Regions from separate parts of the Homo sapiens genome. Here region 1 is linked to region 2. Evidence: promoter capture Hi-C in human tissues and cell types (Jung and others, 2019). All regions are on one chromosome and are shown on one strand. The core of a region is centred on a gene start or on the middle of the fragment in contact, and the rest is flanking DNA. Distances in the headings are between cores, read along the strand shown.

Region 1 (2,976 bases), core at 99-2,598, 260 kb before region 2:
GAGGGAGGTGGGGGGGTCGGCCCCCCGCCCGGCCAGCCGCCCCGTCCGGGAGGTCAGGGGCGCCTCTGCCCGGCCGCCCCTACTGGGAAGTGAGGAGCCCCTCTGCCCGGCCAGCCGCCCCGTCCGGGAGGGAGGTGGGGGGGTCGGCCCCCCGCCCGGCCAGCCGCCCCGTCCGGGAGGTGAGGGGCGCCTCTGCCCGGCCGCCCCTACTGGGAAGTGAGGAGCCCCTCTGCCCGGCCACCACCCCGTCTGGGAGGTGTACTCAACAGCTCATTGAGAACGGGCCATGATGACAATGGCAGTTTTGTGGAATAGAAAATGGGGAAAGGTGGAGAAAAGATTGAGAAATCGGATGGTTGCTGTGTCTGTGTAGGAAGAGGTAGACATGGGAGACTTTTCATTTTGTTCTGTACTAAGAAAAATTCTTCTGCCTTGGGATCCTGTTGATCTGTGACCTTGCCCCCAACCCTGTGCTCTCTGAAACATGTGCTGTGTCCACTCAGGGTTGAATGGATTAAGGGCGGTGCAAGATGTGCTTTGTTAAACAGATGCTTGAAGGCAGCATGCTCGTTAAGAGTCATCACCACTCCCTAATCTCAAGTACCCAGGGACACAAACACTGCGGAAGGCCGCAGGGTCCTCTGCCTAGGAAAACCAGAGACCTTTGTTCACTTGTTTATCTGCTGACCTTCCCTCCACTATTGTCCTGTGACCCTGCCAAATCCCCCTCTGCGAGAAACACCCAAGAATGATTAAAAAAATAATAAATAAAAAAATAAAAATACAAAAATTAGCTGGGCGTGGTGGCACATACCTATAGTCCCAGCTACTCGGGAGGCTAAGGCAGGAGAATCACTTGAATTCCGGGGAATTGGAGGTTGCCGCAGTGAGCCAAGATTGTGCCACTGCACTCCAGCCTGGGCAACAGAACCAGACTACGTCAAAAAAAAAAAAAAAAAAGAGAGAGAGAAAGAAAGAGAGAGAAAAGAAAGAAAAAAAGAAAGAAGAAAGAAAGAAGGAAAGAAAGAAAAGAAAGTCCTTGGTGACATGGCTGAGCCATTGTGTCAACTTTGGCTGAAGCCAGCACAAGTGTGGATTTTCCAGCCACAGATTCCCCTTACAATTTAAGCCATTTGAGTCAGCTGTTCTGGTACTTGCATCTAGGCGAATCATCAAATATTTTACAAGCAGTCCAGGTGCAGTGGCTCACACCTTAATCCCAGTACATTGGGAGGCCAAGGCAGGAGGATCGCTTGAGTTCCATAGTGAGAATTTGTCTCCAAAAAAAAAAAAAAGAAAAGAAAAAATGAATTTCACAACCAATACTTTGGGCACTGACCGAGCAGCATGGTTCACTTCTGTGCCCGATATTGACCCTTTACTTCCTGCATTGTGGAGAGGTCTGGGAAGTCCTGGGAGAGGGACCAGGGCAGCTAGAGTGGCCTTGGTGGAGGACGTCATTGGAGCGACTTGAGACAGAATGATTTACCAACCAATACGGAAATAATTCAGTATTTCAACAATCAACATAGCCTAGATATACCCCAACAACATGCTCCGCAGACAGCTAGTCCAAGCTGAATATGAGCTTTACTTGCTGAAGGATACAACACCCCCCGCCCTTTTTTTGTTTGTTTGTTTGTTATTGAGACGGAGTCTCGCACTGTCGCCCGGGCTGGAGTGCAGTGGCGCGATCTCGGCTCACTGCAACCTCCGCCTCCCGCGTTCAAGCGATTCTCTTGCCCTTTTGACGTGAGCTAGTGTGAATGGATTTCTGTTTCTTGCAACCAAGCACATACAGAAGAAAAAAAAAAAAAAGATCCCCTGACAAGCCTGAGTCATGAATCAAACGTTCAGGAAATAAATAGCAGTCCAATCTCACTTTAACCGTATGAGGTCATCTTAGCTTCGGGTCAGGCTGAAACTCTGCCGAGATTTTTGACCATGAGCTCTGCCAAAGGGTCCGCACCCTTTGGCCCAAGAATCCCTCCTCTGGGACACACAAGGAGGTCCATGAGGGGATTATTTATAATGGGAGGAAATTGGAAACAGCTTCAACCTCTGGCAATGCTGCCCTTTTGAATAAACATAGTGCAAACATTAGAGATTGTGTTTATCCAAAGATGTTTTAACAGGGGAACAGCTTACATTTTAAGAGGGGAAAAAACAGGGCTGTATAAACAATTTGCTCACACAGTTATGTAAAACACACACGTGCACACACACAACACACGCATTTAAAAAGCTCACAGAGAATAGAAAAGGCTGAAAGGAAATATATCAAAATGTCAACAACCATAGTGGTACAGGACTTAGGGATGGGAGGGGCGTCTTTGCCTTGCTAGTTCTCTGTAGTTTCCAAATGTTGCTTGATGAACGCCAAACTCTCCTTTTTTTTTTTTTTTTTTTTTTTTTTTTTTTTTTGAGATAGAGCCTCGCTCTATACCCCAGGCTGGAGTGCAGTGGCACGATCTCGGCTCACTGCAACCTCCGTCTCCCGGGTTCAAGCGATTCTCATGCCTCAGCTCCCGAGTAGCTGTGATTACAGGTGCCTGCCACCACGCTTGGCTAATTTTTCTTTTTCTTTTTCTTTTTTTTTTTTTTGAGAAGGAGTCTCGCCCTGTCCCCCAGGTTGGAGTGCAGTGGCGCAATCTCGGCTCGCTGCAACCTCTGCCTCCCAGGTTCAAGCAATTCTCTGCCTCAGCCTCCCAAGTTGCTGGAATTTACAGGCGCCCACCACAACACCTGGCTAATTTTCGTATTTTTAGTAGAGACGGGGTTTCACCATCTTGGCCAGGCTGGTCTTGAACTCCTGACCTTGTGATCCACCCACCTCAGCCTCCCAAAGTGCTGCTGGGATTACAGGCATGAGCCACCGCACCCAGCCTGATTCTTGTATTTTTGGTAGAGACAGTGTTTTGTCATGTCGGCCAGGCTGATCTTGAACTTCTGACCTCAGGTGATCCACCTGCCTTG
Region 2 (3,076 bases), core at 49-2,548:
GGCTAATTTTGTATTTTTAGTAGAGACGGGGTTTCTCCATGTTGGTCAGGCTGGTCTCGAACTCCCGACCTCAGGTGATCCACCTGCCTCAGCCTCCCAAAGTGCTGGGATTACAGGCATGAGCCACCGAGCCCGGCCCGCTGTTAAATATTCTAATCTGGCTGGAGTGGTGGCTCATGTCTACAATCCCAGCACTTTGGAAGGTTGAGGCAGGAGGATCACTTGAGGCCAGGAGGATCACTTGAGACCAGCCTGGACAACATAGTGAGACCCCATTTCTACAAAAAATTAAAAAGATAAATAAAAATGAACACTTTTTTTTTTTTTTTGAGATGGAGTCTCGCTCTGTCACCCAGGCTGGAGTGCAGTGGTGCAATCTCGGCTCACTGCAACCTCCACCTCCCGGGTTCAAGCTATTCTTCTGCCTTAGCCTCCCGAGTAGCTGGGACTACAGGCGCCCTCCACTATGCCTGGCTAATTTTTAGTATTTTTAGTAGAGACAGAGTTTCACCGTGTTAGCCAGGATGGTCTCGATCTCCTGACCTTATGATCTGCCTTCCTTGGCCTCCCAAAGTGCTGGGATTACAGGCGTGACCCACCGCACCCAGCCAAAAATAAATACATTTTCTAATTTGGCCTCAACATCTCCCCCAAGCTGCTTCTTATCCATGTCCATTTCTCGGGGACTGCCCCTTCATCCCAGAGCCCTAGGCCCGTTCTTAGACAGCTCCCGCCTTTCCCTCAAACCGTCGGTCTCACGGCTGCTTCTCCTGGCCTTTTGAGTGTCTCATCCATTGGCCTCGCCCTCTCCTCCCCAACCTCTCCCATCTGTGCCCTGTCCTGGACTCTTTCCCTGGCTTGGGGCTTCCACTCTTACCCGCTCCAACCTATCCCTTTTCATACAGTAACTTTCTGACACTCATATCTGACCCTGCCCTCCCCTGCTCAAAGCCCTTCTGTGGCTCCCCAGTGCCCTCAGAACAGAATCCAAACTCCTTAGCCTGGCATTCAGGGCCTTTTACAACCTCACCCCACAGTAGCCACAGACTGGGACAGGAGTTTTCTGAACACAGACACACACACATCACATCTCCCAAGCTCAAGAAGCCCACCTTTCCTCACTCCTGCCTTATCCCCATTCCTGTATGCCCAAGGCCCACGATTAGACCCCCCTCTGTCAACACTTCACCTGTTTGGTCTTTGCAAGATTCCGCCACTGGGCGGGGGAGGGGGCCCAGCCTGGTACCCCACCCCCACTCCAGCCAGGGCTCAGGTCTCCAACAACAGAACCAGAGCCACTCAACAGCGCTGGAACCCATTCGGTGGGGCCTGGGGCCCCTCATCCCAAGCCAGGAGGGTTTCTGGGGAGGGGTGCAGCCCCTGGCAGACTGACAGTGTGGCCTGGGGGTTTGGGGGTGCCAGGGAAGCAGGGGCCAACCTCATAGGAGGAGACACGAGTGCGGTTCTCTTTCCCCCACTGGGGGGCCTGCTGTGTCAGCAGCCAGGCGGGAGGCCTGGGCGGCAGAGCCAGTGGTACAGGGGCCTGGGCAGGGCGGTGTCTGGCAGCAGCGGCACCATGTCCACCATCCAGTCGGAGACTGACTGCTACGACATCATCGAGGTCTTGGGCAAGGGGACCTTCGGGGAGGTAGCCAAGGGCTGGCGGCGGAGCACGGGCGAGATGGTGGCCATCAAGATCCTCAAGAATGACGCCTACCGCAACCGCATCATCAAGAACGAGCTGAAGCTGCTGCACTGCATGCGAGGCCTAGACCCTGAAGAGGCCCACGTCATCCGCTTCCTTGAGTTCTTCCATGACGCCCTCAAGTTCTACCTGGTCTTTGAGCTGCTGGAGCAAAACCTTTTCGAGTTCCAGAAGGAGAACAACTTCGCGCCCCTCCCCGCCCGCCACATCCGTACAGTCACCCTGCAGGTGCTCACAGCCCTGGCCCGGCTCAAGGAGCTGGCTATCATCCACGCTGATCTCAAGCCTGAGAACATCATGCTGGTGGACCAGACCCGCTGCCCCTTCAGGGTCAAGGTGAGTAGGGGTCGTCTAGGGTGGCTGCGTCCCTAGTTCCTTGTCTTTTTCCCAGCTTCTTCCAGCCCTAGATTTTTTTTTTAATTTTTTAAAATTATTATTATTATTATTTTTGAGACGGAGTTTCATTCTGTTACCCAGGCTTGAGTGCAGTGGCACAATCTCAGCTCACTGCAACTCCGCCTCCTGGGTTCAAGTGATTATCCTGCCTCAGCCTCCCGAGTTGCTGGGATTACAGGGATGCGCCACCACGCCCAGCTAATTTTTTTTTTGTACTTATCAGAGACGGGGTGATGATGGCATGATCTTGGTTCACTGCCTCCGCCTCCCGGGTTCAAGCGATTCTCCTGCCTCAGCCTCCTGAGTAGCTGGGAATACAGGTGCCCGCCACCCATGCCCGGCTAATTTTTGTATTTTTAGTAGAGATGGAGTTTCGCCATGTTGGCCAGGCTGGTCTCAAACTCCTGACCTTGTGATCCACCTGCCTCAGCCTCCCAAAGTGCTGGGATTACAGGCGTGAGCCACCACGCCCAGCCAATTTTTGTGTTTTTTGGTAGAAACAGGATTTCATCATGTTGCCCAGGCTGGTCTCAAAGTCCTGAGTTCAAGCAATCTGCCCACCTTGGCCTCAACAAAGTGCTGGAATTACAAGTGTGAGCCACCATGCCCAGTCCTCTGTCTGCTTTTGAGTTTGATACTGTCTGGATGCTTCTGAACCAGGGGCACCCTGAGGGCAAGGCTGGGGCTGACTTAATCATCGCTGTGTCCCTGACATCTCCCAGCACTGCAGTCATGGAGCCAGTGCTAAATGAATGCTTGCCAGAGACACAGAGACAGAAAAAGGTGGATTATTCTGCCCCAAGAGGTGGAAGGACAGAGACCCAGGGAAGCAGGGACTTCCACAAACACAGCAGGGGACAGACAGGACGGATCCACAGCACCTGGCCGGCATTATCACCCCCACTGTCTCTGTGGAAGGAATGAATTCATTCCACAAACATAGACTAAGTGCCCAGGGTCACTCAGCCTCTTGGG

The links. The method cuts DNA at HindIII sites, captures the fragments that hold promoters and counts their contacts. A contact is called where the count stands out against the background at its distance.
Region 1: a contact is called between a fragment that was not itself captured here and the fragment with the promoter of HIPK4 in region 2, in 2 of the 25 tissues and cell types used here (dorsolateral prefrontal cortex and liver).

Annotation. Positions count from the first base shown.
Region 1 is chr19:40,645,168-40,648,143 of GRCh38, reverse strand. No RefSeq gene overlaps it. Among named protein-coding and RNA genes, the nearest start is that of NUMBL, 44 kb to the left of the region's middle. RefSeq lists an enhancer at 1-660. The HindIII fragment of the contact is 9,795 bases long and covers 1-2,976 here.
Region 2 is chr19:40,388,403-40,391,478 of GRCh38, reverse strand. It overlaps HIPK4 (homeodomain interacting protein kinase 4), which reads left to right and starts at 1,298. Exons shown (of 4, transcript NM_144685.5): 1 at 1,298-2,041. The coding sequence starts at 1,577. RefSeq lists enhancers at 846-1,395, 1,396-1,945. The HindIII fragment of the contact is 19,093 bases long and covers 1-3,076 here.